Regions from separate parts of the Homo sapiens genome. Here region 2 is linked to region 1. The links are contacts of gene promoters, found by promoter capture Hi-C in human tissues and cell types (Jung and others, 2019). All regions are on one chromosome and are shown on one strand. The core of a region is centred on a gene start or on the middle of the fragment in contact, and the rest is flanking DNA. Distances in the headings are between cores, read along the strand shown.

Region 1 (7,320 bases), core at 1-2,500:
CTCCTATTGGCCTTGACATCCCTGGAATGCTCCTCTGCTCTCCCAGCTTTCTTCACAGGAAGCTCTATGTTTAGTGTCTGTGCTAGGTTGAAGTTGATGGTGATGATGAGGACCCTGGCATTTTTTCCTGTTTTCAGGAAATACCTAATATTTCCTGGTTAAATCTTTAATATTCTAAAAAGAATGGAAACAGTGCTTTCATTCAATAATTTAAGAGAGCAAATGCCTCTTATTTCCTGATAATGGGCCCTACTATTCTCTTCAGGTCTAAACACTGGTGCCAGACCTGTATTCCGGTGGAGTAGAGAGTAACTCATTGCAGGCTTCTAGGTCATTATACCCTCATGAAGGGGCGACTGAGGTAATGGGGTGAGTAGTCTCCTGTAGGGGCCAGAGTGAAGAGGACAATGACCTTATCAGGGTACAGGTGAAATGAGCTCAGTGAGAGAGATAAAGAGTTGTGTAAGGTTCATGAGTTGCTAGGTGCATACACGTGGTCCTTTCTCTCACAGCATGTAAAAAATCAGCTCAACATGGATTGAAGACTCAACATAGACTTGAAAAGACCTGAAACCATACAACTACGAGAAGCACATACAAAGATAAAGCTTTGGACATTGACGTGAGTAATGATTTCTTGGCTATGACACCAAAGGCACAGGCAATAAACAAATGGGAAAATAGACAAGCGGGGCTGCATTGAACGCTAAAGCATCTTCATAGCAAAGGAAACAATCAACTGAGGGAAACGGCAACCCAGAAAATGAGAGAAAATGTTTGCAAAGCCTACGTGGTAGAAGGGGTAAATATCTGAATACATAAGGAAGTCAAACAACTCAATAGCAAAAAACAAACAACCTGATTGAAAAACAGACCTAGGACCTGCAGAGGCTTCTCTCACAATAAAATAATGTTTTAAGAAGCTGTGATCGTCTTTATTGGACATGTCAAGTAGGACACGTGTGTTTGGAAGGAAACTTTTTGAGTTTCTCTATTGACTTAGCTAGTAGCCATTACCCCCAGCAGCCGCCAGACACCCAGATAGAAGTTCACAGCAGGGGCTTCACCCGCTGGGTCCCTCTGGGGTGGCCCCACAGTGAGAGGTCAGACTGGGGACACAGCTTCAATATTGAAACCTCAATGTGAAAGTTTAAGTTTTGTGTTACTTACAGATCCTCAAGCTAGGCAGGGCGAGCAGAGAGGGCAGACAGCAGTCCTGTGTTCCAGGTCTTATGTAGCAAGAGCAGCCATGCACACAGAGGAGAGGACTTCCTTATTTAAGGGTCTTTTGGTATCAGGTGTCCTAATTTTTCAGGGTTACTTTCTATTGGGTACTTTAAATAACTGTTAACAAGGGCAGTTGAGAAATTTGGCAGAAAGCTGGAGTTCAAGCAGGAGTCCACGGAGGTACCGACCCCTCGTCTACTTTGGTCAGCCCTGGCCAGGCCCAGGCAGCAATCAACTATGGATTCCTCATGACTCCTAAGACAATTGACCCCATGATACCTATGCTGGTGGCTGAGGCTGAACTACCTGGACCGAGGGAATATTTAAAGCCACCAGGAGAGCCTGGCCTGCATATTGTTGTATACACCTTGCGAGGAGACTAGGATCAAAATGCCACCCACACACAGATGAGGATTTGGAATGTGGTCTGAACTGACCTCCCCAGGCCCTGGGGTCTAACCATAAAAACAAATCCAAGCCATTCAGACAAGTAAGGTTGGAGAATACCTGGATGAGACTGAATACCGCCTGGGCTTGTGTTGCTGGATAGGGCAGGTTGCAGGCTCCCGAGTAAAGGATGTGCATATAGCATGTGGTTCCCTAGAGGGGACAGTCACCTTTTTGCTTGGCCTTAGATAGTTCAAGCCTAAATGACTGTCTAGGTCATCCAGGCCAAGGACTCATCAAATGATTGCGTGACACCTAATGTCTGTCAGAAGTCCCTTAGGATGGTGGCCAAAGCTGCAGCGAGATTGGTGTTAGCTTGCATCACCTTGTGTTGTGAGCTCAAATACCCTGTTCCCAAACCAATCCCGTAGGCTTACGAGTCTCCCTACACCCAGAGTTAGGAAGATGGTCACTGGGTGGGGGGGATGCATAAGCTTTCCCTTGTGTGGTCCCTCCTGGGTTATTTGAAGGGGAGTCCCAGGGAGACTAGTGCACATTTTAAAATGTACCACTCTCCACCATCCTCCTCCTTGTAGTGAGGTAAACGGGATGAGGTTTCTGGAAATGAGAAAAGAATGCAGTTGTTCCTGAGGGAATGAATACCTATAGTGAGGTTGCTGAACCCAGTATGCAGTCCAGGCAGCCCCTGCCGCCATGGGAGGGCCGTGCACAGCGCTGGTCCAGCAGGCTGGGTGCTCAGGGCCTCCCCTGCAGCTCTGCGTGAAGGCAGCAGGCACTGGGCTATGGAGGACTGGGGGCAGCGGCGCTCTCAGTCTTAAGGAGGGAAGAGGCATCTCAAGCCTCGCTAGGGGTGGTCGCTGTTCCAGAGCAGTGAAGTCGGCTGCCCCTATGAGGAAGCAGTGAGTTCCTGATCTGTTGCAGGCCCAGCAATTTCACCTTTGGAGGAAGTGGGCACTGGACTCATTCCAGCAGAGGAAGAAATTAGGGCTATTTGGGGAACTGGGCCCCAGATGATGGTTTTAGGTTCTAGGGCATTAGTAGGTGCCTGAAGGGCCCAGTGGATATGGATGTAGAGGCAAAATGAGAAGGGGTGTGTGTGCACGTGGGGAAGGTCTGGTGGTTGTGGGGATGTCCAGTGTCCTGCAGAAGTGAAACCTGGACCAGCCTCCTGCACACAGAACACACTCCAATCCATAGGCATTTTCCTAGTAACATAGGAGAGAGCTGTTATTGGCAGAGCTGGTTAGATTTGGGTGTGATATTATAACAGACAGGTCTTCCAAGTCCATATTTTTTGGCATAACTTGTAGGGCAGCCTCCTGATCTGATCCAAGCCTTGTGGTTTCCTTGCAGTAGGCGGTTTAACTAATGGGTTACACTGAAGACAAATGGGGATCCCAGCAAAATACCATTCTAAGGGGTCATCTGCAGGGTCCTCAGGAAAGCATGAGCTAAGAAAGCACGGGTCCAGGTACTGGACGTGAGCCAACTCCATGTCCCGGGGGTGGTGAGATCCATACCTTGCGGCAGGAAGGAGAGTAAGGTGAGTCTGGTTTGGGGATGACCCCACAGTCAAGATGAGATTCCTTGGTGTCTCTGGTTCTGGTGAGGCCACTGTTTCCCAGGACAAACCCTTGGATCAGAGCACTGTCTTCTGAGGTGATGGCCTTTCGGGTAGGGGTGGCCTTTCCAGCTGGTCACTCAAGAAGAGAGAGGGTATGGGCTGGTGTTGCACAGGCCTCTGGCCTCTGTGGGACTCCATGGAAGCGTTTAGTGAAAGCTTGAGTGGTGCTTTCCTTGGTCGGGGGATAGGACATTTCCATCCACAACTCACATACTTTGGAGCACAGAAGTATCCCTAAGCCCATGAACGTGTTTGAATGCTTTCTCTGCATGTGAGGCTCCAACCTTTCCGGCCACAGACTGAGTTTGTGCTGAGGCATCATTAGCTGGTTTGTATTCATGCCTGGTCATGGGGAGGGCCACCTGCCTCTGATTGTGGGGGTTGCTGGTGTTTAAGCTTTAGTGCCATGGGTCCCATTCAATATCTAAGGATCGGGTTTCCTGGCTTGGATCCAGGTCAGGTGGCATTTGGGGTTTTGCCCCTCTAGCACATTGCCTCAACATGCCACAGTTTTCCAGCCTGGGGTTCAATTTCTCACAGTGGCTGTCCTGTTCCAGCAGCTCTCTGGGATGCCAGGCCCCAGGCCTAAGAGCAGCCGTACAACATTTACATACATAAGATACCCAGCAAGGCCAAAGATAGAGAGCACTGACAGCTTATAACTCAGGGATTTCCTCAAGGTACTTTTACGTCGATATTGATTATGGGGTGGGCTTTCACCAACATTTCTTCAGAGCATTTTTCTGCAATCGACACAGGACATGGTGATGGTAGTTCCATGTGGTCTTTGTCTGATGTAGTTGGCGTCCTCTAGTTTGATGGCTTTTTCTCCTCATTTAGTGACCCAGACTGTACCCTCTTTGGGCTGCAGAGAAACAATCCCCACTTCCTTCAGGGAGGAGTGAGTGGGAGATATTAGCTACCTTTCAAAGCAGGAAGAACTGGAGCTTCTGCTGGAGGCTGTATGTCAAGAGGTGAGGTCTGGTGTAGCAGAAGCATCTTAGGGCTGCTCTGTGGCAGCTGCCTGGACCATCAGTCCCCAGAGGATCACAGCTCACTATCTGTATTAGTCCATTTTCATGCTGCTCATAAAGACCTACCCGAGACTGGGTGATTTATGCAGGAAAGAGATTTCATGGACTCACAGTTCCACATGGCTGGGGAGGCCTCACAATCATGGTAGAAGACAAAAGGAGCAAGTCAAGTCTTACGTGGGTGGCAGCAGGCAAAGAGAGAGCTTCTGCAGGGAAACTCCCTATATAAAACCATCAGATCTTGTGAAACTTATTCACTACCATGAGAACAGCATGGGAAAGACCTGCCTCCATGATTCAATTACCTCCCACCAGGTCCCTCCAACACATAGGAATTCAAGATGACATTTGGGTGGGAACACAGCCAAACCCTATCACTGTCCATCCTCGATCGAGTCTTTAGTAAATGTTTGATGCTGAGACAGTGGACATCTTGTGATGGTATGAGGGGGTCTCATTATTGCAGAAAATGTGGGTGATGGTATCCATAAGGGAAAAAGAGCTCAACTCTTCTGTGATCACCAGGGTGGGTGCCATGGTTGGTCTGGTCCAATTGTAGAAGAGCTGGTGGCCATGGTGTTGAGAATTAAGATAGTTAAGGCTCTCAAAGGAGCTTGGTTCCCTTGATGAACCACTTGTAGGGGGACTGGAGCCTTTCCTAATTTGACTTAGTCTGTGCTCATGCCACAACTTTAATAAGCATGACTTTAGGAGGCCACTGTGTTGCTTGAGGAGGCCAGTGGCTAAGTGAGGGTCCCCTAACCCCCATGCTGAGTTGCCCAGCACCACCCTGAAGTGGGAGCCCTGATCTGCATCAGTGATATCTGGTGGTTCACAAGAGGTAATAGAGCAAATGTCACAGAAAGAGAGCACCTTTCTCTACCAAGAGCCTTGGGTTGGAAGAGTCAATGGAAGTGCGGTGGATGTGTGTCTGCTCCTGCACAGCAGAAGGTGGTGGCTGTGATGGGAGAGGCCCAGTGAAGTCCATTTGCCACCAGCTGAAAGGGTGATGGCCCAGGAACAAGGGATTGCTGGCCACAGTTTTGCTTGCCTGAAGCTATGGTGGGAGACAGCTGTGGTGTGGGTTGCCCTCTAATGTGGCTGTAGCTCTCATGATCTGGGGCTGTAGGACTCCACTCTGTCAGCACCTGAGGAATACAGAACTTGAGATTCTGGAGTCTGTAAAAATAAGAGGATCTCACCCAAGCCCTGGGAGGTGCATCTGACCGCTAACCTCCTGGGGACAGGACATCAGGGGCTGTCAGCAGGCTCAGTCTGGAGGCCAAAGATGGCAGTCGTCTCACTGTGGATGCCTCACCCTTCGAGTGGTGGAAAGTAGCCTGGGCATGTTTGTTCTGAATGCATGAGGCATGAATCACCTATAGGAGGACTGGAGTGTCCCCTAATTTGACCCAAACAGGTCCACGCCACAGAGGCCATTCCAGAGGCATTGGATCCAGGGCACTCACAATATGTTGGGCACAGCCCAGGAATCTGTAAAAACTGTCCCCGAGTGGGGGTTATGGCCACAGCAACCTCCCCTGCAACCGGCACCACCAGCTGTATGGCTGGGCTCAGCATACCCTCCCCTCCTATGCAGGCCCTGCTGTGATAAATGTGGGAGGTGGTTGCCGGCCAGTGGGCTCCCGGCCTGCAGGGCAGTGCTGCCTTCCCTGAGGTATGTGGACTCCCCATGTCCAACTCTTCCCATGGCCTCATCAGGTCACCAATTGTTCGGGCAATAGGGTCGCTGCTGCTATTTCTCTCTGCTTGTAGGCAGGAGCTGAATAACAGGGAAACCATGGCCTCAGCTTCCTGTCACTTGAAAGGACTTAAGTGCCAGGTTTGCCTTGTCCTACAAGTGCTGTTCCCATTTTCCCAGGGAGACATGAATGGCTGAGCCTCTGTCAGGAGGAGTCAGACATGGGGCATGGCTGGAGTCTGGGGACACAGCAGCACCGGAACCTGTCCTGTAGTGCCTATGTCTATACGGGCATTGTGTGTAGTGGTAGCCAGCTTTTTAACGGGGGATAATGAGCTGCAGCTGCCAGGAAGTTTATGCCTGCAGAAGCCCATAGCCAGGATGGACGTGCTTTCTCCAGAGGCTCTGGGAGTCATGATTGGTGGTACTGAGGGCCTCTATATGAAACTCAGAACCCGGGACCTGGGCATGGCCTGAGAGACCACCTGCTGAGCCAGCTGCATGCTGTATCCTGCTGTGGCCCCAGTTAAGACATGGAGGGCTTCTGGGTGACAGTGTCTGTGGGCCTCTGCAGAATGGACAAGTGAGGTGTAGGTGCAGGCGGAATGTCCCAGTATGCGCAGGGCCTGCCACAAAGTGGCTGGCACCCTAATGGTGAAGACTTTGGTTTTAACTGCAAGGTGAATTTGGTGGCCCACTGAGGACCAGGTTATCTCTAGAATCTTTACAGCAGTGCGGGGCCTGAACTTTGTGTGGGTTGTGGCCCAGCCATGGTCTTGGAGGAAGCCACTAAAATGACCAGCATGGTTTTCACTTCCTTCTTCTAGGGGCTTCTGAGGAAAATGCTATCAATGTAATGCCACAAGGTACAGGGGTTCACACTGAATCACAGGAAGTCCCGGGGGCACGAGTTATGGGCAGTAGCTGGCTTACTGAGACAGCCTGAGTGCAATTTGGTAAATGTGCACTGGGTCCCTTCCAAAGTCAAAGCAAACACAGACTGCGACCCGTCTGTGATGGGAATGGGCAGAATGCATTGGCCAAGTCTCCTGCTGTGAAATGTTGTGCCCTGGGCCTTTGTATGCCCTCTGTTAACTTGACTGTATCTGGAATCAGGGCCTTAATGGTCCTGGAGGACAATCTGGTGGCTGCTCTACTTGGATTCCAGCGCCACAGAGTGGCAAGCACTGTTTCCGTCTTATATTTTAGTGGAGGAGACAAACAATAGGCAAAGTTATGATGGGTATGATACACTATGCAGCCAGTGGTTATTATACAGAATAAAAGGATAACATTGAGGTGACCTGGAGTGCCCAGGTGACACG
Region 2 (6,865 bases), core at 2,755-5,254, 150 kb after region 1:
CTGAGATGAAGCACATATTACAGAAATGTTCTCTCTATAGCATTACCTATTAGTCTAATGAGCATGAAAAAGAGGAGAGGGGACATGCTCTCTCTAGCTATTATTACCTCCACTATAGAGTTGACATACACAAACTCATTATTGCATTATGTTTTATTCAACAAAATAAATTTAATGTTGTAGTTTAAATTAAATTCGCTGAAACATCTTTATCTCCAGCATAATGTGCCTCAAGTGCCTTCTTGGTGACTGCATTTTCTCCAGAATTAGAGTACTGAAGCTATGTAATGGTGAAATTATATGCAATCTGCAAAACGGTGTGGCTATAACATCATATTTGGCCTTCCACGTAATTAAAGGAACATTTCCTCCTCAGAGCTTTTCCATCAGAGACCCAAAGGCTATCATTGTACAAATCACCCACTTAGGAAAACCTTTATTCCCAGTAGCCTATAAAAATCTGGTTATGCAAACAGATTTGCTTATTCAGTAACATTAATAGCTCCTCATGGTTAAAAAGTCCTATAATCTGTTTCCTCTGTGACCAAGTGTCGTTTTTATTTTGACATTTGGGAGCCTTTTGACTCCTTTACAGCTGGCAAGAAGGCACAGGGAGGGAACTCTCAAAAACCAACAACCTATGTATTCCCAGCCTATTAATCAATAGAAAATCACTTCAACTGGATTAGGGTCTTGTACCTGGCAGAAAGGCTCTTATGGACATTGGAATTGGATTTTAACACTTGGTATGGCAACTCCTTGAATCAGATCAGATTCGTGTTTGATAGACTCTTGCCAAAAAATTGCTCCAGGTTCTGTGCAGTAGCTAAAGACTTTTCGTTGTTGTTGTTTTAAAAGCAGCATTAAATGTTTTCGTGAAGACCTTCCCAGCAGTGATTTTATTGTGAACATGGTCTTTAGCTCTGGTCCTGTATAACTCACACTGAGGAAACCTCTAACAAGTGTTTTATTGGAAGATGTCTGATGGATGGTTGCTTTTAATAACAAATCTCTTCCCTTTTTCTGTCCCCTGTGTTCTATTCTCCTTTCTCTACACGTTATTCAGGGAGGATTCACCTATTCCCAAAGTCCTTTCCTCTTTATTTCCATTCCAGAGCTCTCTGTATAACTCCAGGTTGATGAATGCAACTGCCCACTGTTTATCTCCACTTGGCTGTCTGTCTTGCATTGATCTCATCTTACCTTGCCTCTCCTGATTTCCTCTTCGGCCTGGGCTCGCCACATCAGATCCACACCACCATCCACCCAGCTTCCAAAACACCTGGGCCTCCTCCTTCATTCCTCCCTCTTTCTCAGTCAAGTTAGTCTACTGTCTCCTCTCCATCCTCACTGCCACAGCCTTGGTCCAGCCAACCATCTTGTCTCACTTGGTGTATTGCAGCCTCCTACCTGGTCTACTCACCTCCCACTCTCCTTCAGCCAGACTGCTCTTCTTCTAGCACAAAGTGGATCATGACTCCCCTGCCTAAAAACATCTACTGTCTCCCTTTGTCTACAGGATAAACACGACAAAGAGCCTTTAAGATTTGGCTCCAACTTACCTCTACATTAGTCACTTTTTACAATTATATGAACATCTCTCAGCTCCTCACCCTCTCACGTCTCGATTTTTGCACATGCTCTTCCCTCTGCTGAGAATGATCTTCCACACCTCTCCTATCGACCTGGCTAGTTCCTACCATTTTCTAGTCTTCAACTGAGGAGTCCTGTGGTGGAGAAGGATTTCTCACCACCTGATAGAGATTGCATGCCCACCCACCTCCGGGCTTTTTTTTTTTTTTTTTTTTGACGGACTCTCGCTCTGGCCACCCAGGCTGGAATGCAGTGACGCGATCTTGGCTCACTGCAATCTCCGCCTCCCGGGTTCAAGCAATTCTCCCACCTCAGCCTTCTGAGTATCTGGAATTGCAGGTGACCACCACCACATCTGGCTAATTTTTTTGTATTTTTAGTAAAGACAGGATTTCACTATGTTGGCCAGGTTGTTTTCGAACTCCTGGCCTCAAGTGATCCACCCACCTTGGCCTCCCAAAGTGCTGGGATTACAGACATGAACAACTGCACCTGGCCGATTGGGTGCCCCTTCTATGTGCTCCCATTGCCCCAGGCATACTGTCACCATAACTCTTACCATTCTGAGTTGAAAATGATTTTTTTTTTTTGCTTTTTATTTCTCTCATTAAATGCAAAGCTCATTGAAAAGAGGACAGTGGTTGTTCACTGTTGTACTCCTAACCTTTGACTCAGTGTCCTGAGGTTGGCTCTAGAGCTGTGCACACATGTTCAGACATTGGAGCACATCTTGTCTAGCACCTCTTTTGAGGTGGCTTAGAGAAAAGTCAGTAGGTACTTCCCCAAGGATGAAACAGAAGCTTCACCTAAACCAGTTCTGCAACTGCAGCCTGCATTAGCATTCTCTGAGAGCTTGTTAAAAATGCAGTCTCCTAGAGCCCACTCTTCAAGAGTCGGTGAGTTGCTTCATCATCAAAATATATACAGAATTCAGCCAGTCTTCAGCGTCAGCCTGGTCTGAGCCACTGTGGACTCCCACCTGCAGAATGTCCCTGCTGGTCTCCTTGCTTCTGCTCTTACCTTCTAATTACCCATTCAAGTAGCCAGGGTGATCCTTTTAAAAATTTTTTAAATTTTTTTTGAGATGAAGTCTCACTCTGTTGCCCAGGCTGGAGTGCAGTGGTGCTATCTCAGCTCGCTGCAGCTCTACCTCCTGGGCTCAAGCCATCCTCCCACCTCAGCCTCCTGGGTAACTGGGACCACAGACATACACCACCACACCCGGCTAATTTTTGTATTTTTTGTAAAGACACGGTCTTGCTATGTTGCCCAGGCTAGTCTTGAACTTCTGTGTGCACCCACCTCAGCCTCCTGCATTTTTAGGAGGCCCCTCTTGTAGGGATTTTGATCCAGAGGACTGGGTGCCTCATGTCTCCTCCCATCTCTCTCTTCTTTCTGTCTCTGTCCTCTCTCTCTTTCTCTTTGCCTTATAGCTGCCCTGGGAACTAGACTCTGCCTTAGGCATCCCTCTGACTCTTGTTTGCTTTTACACTGAGGCTGTTTTAAGTTGCACCTTGATCTGAAGCCTTGGGCTTCTGTTCCTATTCCTTGCTTTTGTTGGAAGGGCCGTGCAGCTTCTTGACAAATTGCAAAGGTGCCTACGAGTTTCCAAGTCCCCAAGAACCAAGCCAGATGACAAACAAAGATGCAGCCCACAGCTGGGGAGACAGATTTCATGTCCACACAGAGACTCCAAGATGCTGAACTGAAATCCACCCCGAAGCCTGTTTTCTCTCTCATTTCAGTTCAATGTCAGCTGGGGGCTTGCAGGGCAGGGCTGGTGACCATTCACAGGGCAAAGATGCTTTGAAATGTCAACTGAGAATGGTGTGGTGGTTGACAGATGGCACGACAGAACATAGATTAACATGGAAAGAGAAACTCATCCCTTGGGGGGAGTGTGTGAGGCTGGCAGCCACACAGAGGGCTTTTGCTGTGAGCTCTTGCAGAGACATAAACAGCCAGGAGGTTTTGCTTTCTGAGCCTGAGTGGAAGCATGTTCCTCCCTGCACATTGCCGCTCTGCTGCAAATGTTTATTCCCGTTGCATTGATTAAAAGTGCTTACCAGGCCGGGCGCGGTGGCTCACGCCTGTAATCCCAGCACTTTGGGAGGCCGAGGCAGGCAGATCACAAGGTCAGGAGATTGAGACCATCCTGGCTAACACGGTGAAACCCCATCTCTACTAAAAATACAAAAAATTAGCCGGGCATGGTGGCGGGCACCTGTAGTCCCAGCTCCTTGGGAGGCTGAGGCAGGAGAATGGCATGAACCCAGGAGGCGGGGCTTGCAGTGAGCCGAGATTGTGCCACTGCACTCCAGCCTGGATGACAGAGCAAGACTCCGTCTCAAAAAACGTGCTTACCGAAGGGGTTTGAGGGCAGTGGTGACAGTGTGAGTTATGGCTCTGCTGGCTGCCAGTGGAGCCAGTCGCTCTGCGCAGCCGTGCAAGGGTGTTTTGAAAAGTGGCTCAGCCGGCCAGGAGTGACTGGGTGTAAATATTGCTGCCACTACATACTGTAGCCTGATTGGGGCCGTGTTTGCAGAACCCCTAAACCACTACACTTGTTCAGGCTTAAAAATAAGCTTACTTTTTTGGTTGTTTTGTTTTGTTTTATGAGATGGAGTCTTGTTCTGTCACCGGGTTGGAATGCAGTGGCATGATCTCGGCCCACTGCAACCTCTGCCTCCTGCGTTGAAGTGATTCTCCTGCCTCAGGCTCCCGAGTAGCTGGGACTACAGGCCTGTGCCATCATGGCCAGCTAATTTTTGAATTTTTAGTACAGACGGGGCTTCACCATGTTGGTCAGGATGGTGTGATCTCTTGACCTCGTGATCTGCCTGCCTTGGCTTCCCAAAGTGCTATGATTACAGGCGTGAGCCACCATGCCTGGTCAAACATAAACTTACTTTCTTACCTCTTCTGCTGAACTCTATTTGCTTCTTTTCTCAACTTCTGCTGAACTCTATTTTGCTTCTTTTTCCTGGATAAAGCTCTTCTTTATCCAGAAGACTTTTAGCAACAAAGTTACCCAATGCCCTTCCCTAGTCTCTCCTTGCAACTGGCTCTCGGGTTGGGGTGGGGGGGGTGTGTAGGAGGAAATCCTTGACAGAACCAATTTACATGACTGTTTGGAGTACTCTGGCTAGCCCCAGGAGGTGTTTGCATTTTTAAATTGGTTAGTAGTGTCAGAATGTTTCATGAGTAAGAGCCCAGCCTCTAAGTTGGATACCCTGAATTTAAATCTCAACATGGCCACTTTGTATATAACCAGAGGTTGGATTTGGGGACCCAATGGATCTACCATGACATGAACTTGCACCAACATTCACCTGACCTCCAAAATGCCTATTCTGACTAGTAGACCCTAGTCTCACCCTAGTGCCAGTTCAGAGCCTGTGTCCAGTGATCCTGCACAGGTCCCATTAGTTCCTTTTCTCCTATTCAGTCATCCTGGTAAAAGGCTGTGTATTCCCTTGGGCGCAGGCTGGGAGAAAGATGGACAGTATTAATTTTTGGCAGTGTAGCAGAGTCCTTTCTGGAGGGAACCTGGCTTCCCATTCAGACAAGTGACTCCGGGTCTGTGAACTGGCTCACGTCTGGGAATTGACGGGAGACTGTGACTCTGTTTTTATGATTCAGATTACACTTCTGCTCACCTGACCTAGAACTCTTCTGCAAACACAGATCAAGTAAAAATGTGGCAGGCTTCTTATCTCTTTCACTTCTAGGAAAGCCACGATCAGCTGGCACCATAGGTCTCTGCGAGTCAGGCTATTCTGGTTGCAGCTTTGACTCTGCTGTCTTTTATGGTAACTGCATCCACCTTGCCTTTGGGGATTGAGTGCTGTGACCACTTGGCCCCAGCCCTTGTAGTGTGCCTATGTCATTTACCCTCTTTATATGTCAGTCTCCTCCTCTATAAAATGGGAATCCTCATTGCACCCACCCCCAGGGCTGCTGTGAGGTATAGATGGATTAGCATTTGGAAAGTAATAGAAGAGGGTCTCAAAGCCCATGTGTCGTTATCAGAATTATTTCGTGACAGGGGAGAGCTGGAGGAGAGAGGAAAGAGTTGAGCAGACCCACGTGCTCTCCCACCAGTGTTTCCTGAGCACCTACTATGTGCTGCCCACTGTGAGAGCTGTTAGGGTTGAAATAGGGAGCACAGCAGTGTAGGGGCTGCCATCAGGAGCTCAGTGGGGAGACCATTGTGCAACATGGTTCCAGCGCTTGCGGTGGGGAAGCTCAGGGAGTACAGGGGCCTAGGATCCTGGGCAGAATCATGGAAAGGACACAGCCTCCCCAGCCTGTCCTGCCTCCGCTGCCTCCCTGGCCTCCTCTGCATCCCTGGCCTCTCCTGACTTCCTGGCTTCCCCTTACTCCCTGGCCTCCTCTGCATCCCTGGCCTCTCCTGACTTCCTGGCTTCCCCTTCCTCCCTGGCCTCCCCAGTCTCCCCTGTCTCTCCTGCTTTTGAGATGGGCCAGGAGCTGCTGGTGCTCACTTAGCCTGTCCTGGACTCTGGGTGTAGCACTTCGATGTCCAGAAAATACGCCCGGGTTCAGCTCATCACACAGCCAAGGAAGGAGCTCCACACTGACACTAAGGGTGCATCCTGGGCTCATTCATCAGGGCATGCCTCCAAAATATTTCTCCACGTCTCCTCCCTTTGCCCACCTGCACTGTCTCTGTGCCTGAGCCCTGGCTGAGGGTCTGCAAGGATCCCCTATCTCCTCTGCCCCTGCACGGCTGGGTCCCAGGCAATCTGTCCGCCCACCACGCCTGTCGCCCCTTGCCCACCACGCTCCAGCCCCACAGTCCTCTTTCTGCTTCTTTCCCAGCCTCTGGGCTTTTGCACACGCTGTTCCCTCTGCCTGAACACCCTCCACTGGGCTGAGAACAACTCTCTGAGACCTCTCTCAGCTGTTGCTTCCTTTGGAACAGCCGCTGCTGCTGTCCCTCTCCCAGCTGCAAGACCGGCTGAGCCTCCTGTCTTTTTCAGTTCCCATGCCCCCAGCACTTCTCCTTGGCCTCCTTTGGCCGAATTGACAATGTCCATTCTCAATGCCTTCTCACCCAGCGCTGAGCCCCACTGGATGAAGGCAATGCCTGTCATGTTCACCGCAATATCCCCTCCCCCATCACCACGCCTGGTCCACAGTGATGCTCAAAAAAGATCTGTTGGTAGGCAATGCGAAGGTGCATTCATGTCATCCTGCAGGCGGAATTCTCCACGAGTTTTGAGCAGCCTCGGGTTTCCCACCCCCTCCA

Evidence for each region. The method cuts DNA at HindIII sites, captures the fragments that hold promoters and counts their contacts. A contact is called where the count stands out against the background at its distance.
Region 2: a fragment that was not itself captured here is called in contact with the fragment with the promoter of DEFA4 in region 1 in 4 of the 25 tissues and cell types used here (liver, mesendoderm cells, pancreas and 1 more).

What each region holds. Positions count from the first base shown.
Region 1 is chr8:6,937,056-6,944,375 of GRCh38, forward strand. DEFA4 (defensin alpha 4) reads right to left here and starts at 1,251. Exons shown (of 3, transcript NM_001925.3): 1 at 1,171-1,251. RefSeq lists a silencer at 987-1,056. The HindIII fragment of the contact is 4,214 bases long and covers 1-2,761 here.
Region 2 is chr8:7,084,808-7,091,672 of GRCh38, forward strand. It overlaps the pseudogene LOC107986875. Among named protein-coding and RNA genes, the nearest start is that of DEFA5, 32 kb to the left of the region's middle. RefSeq lists an enhancer at 4,252-5,011. The HindIII fragment of the contact is 7,338 bases long and covers 336-6,865 here.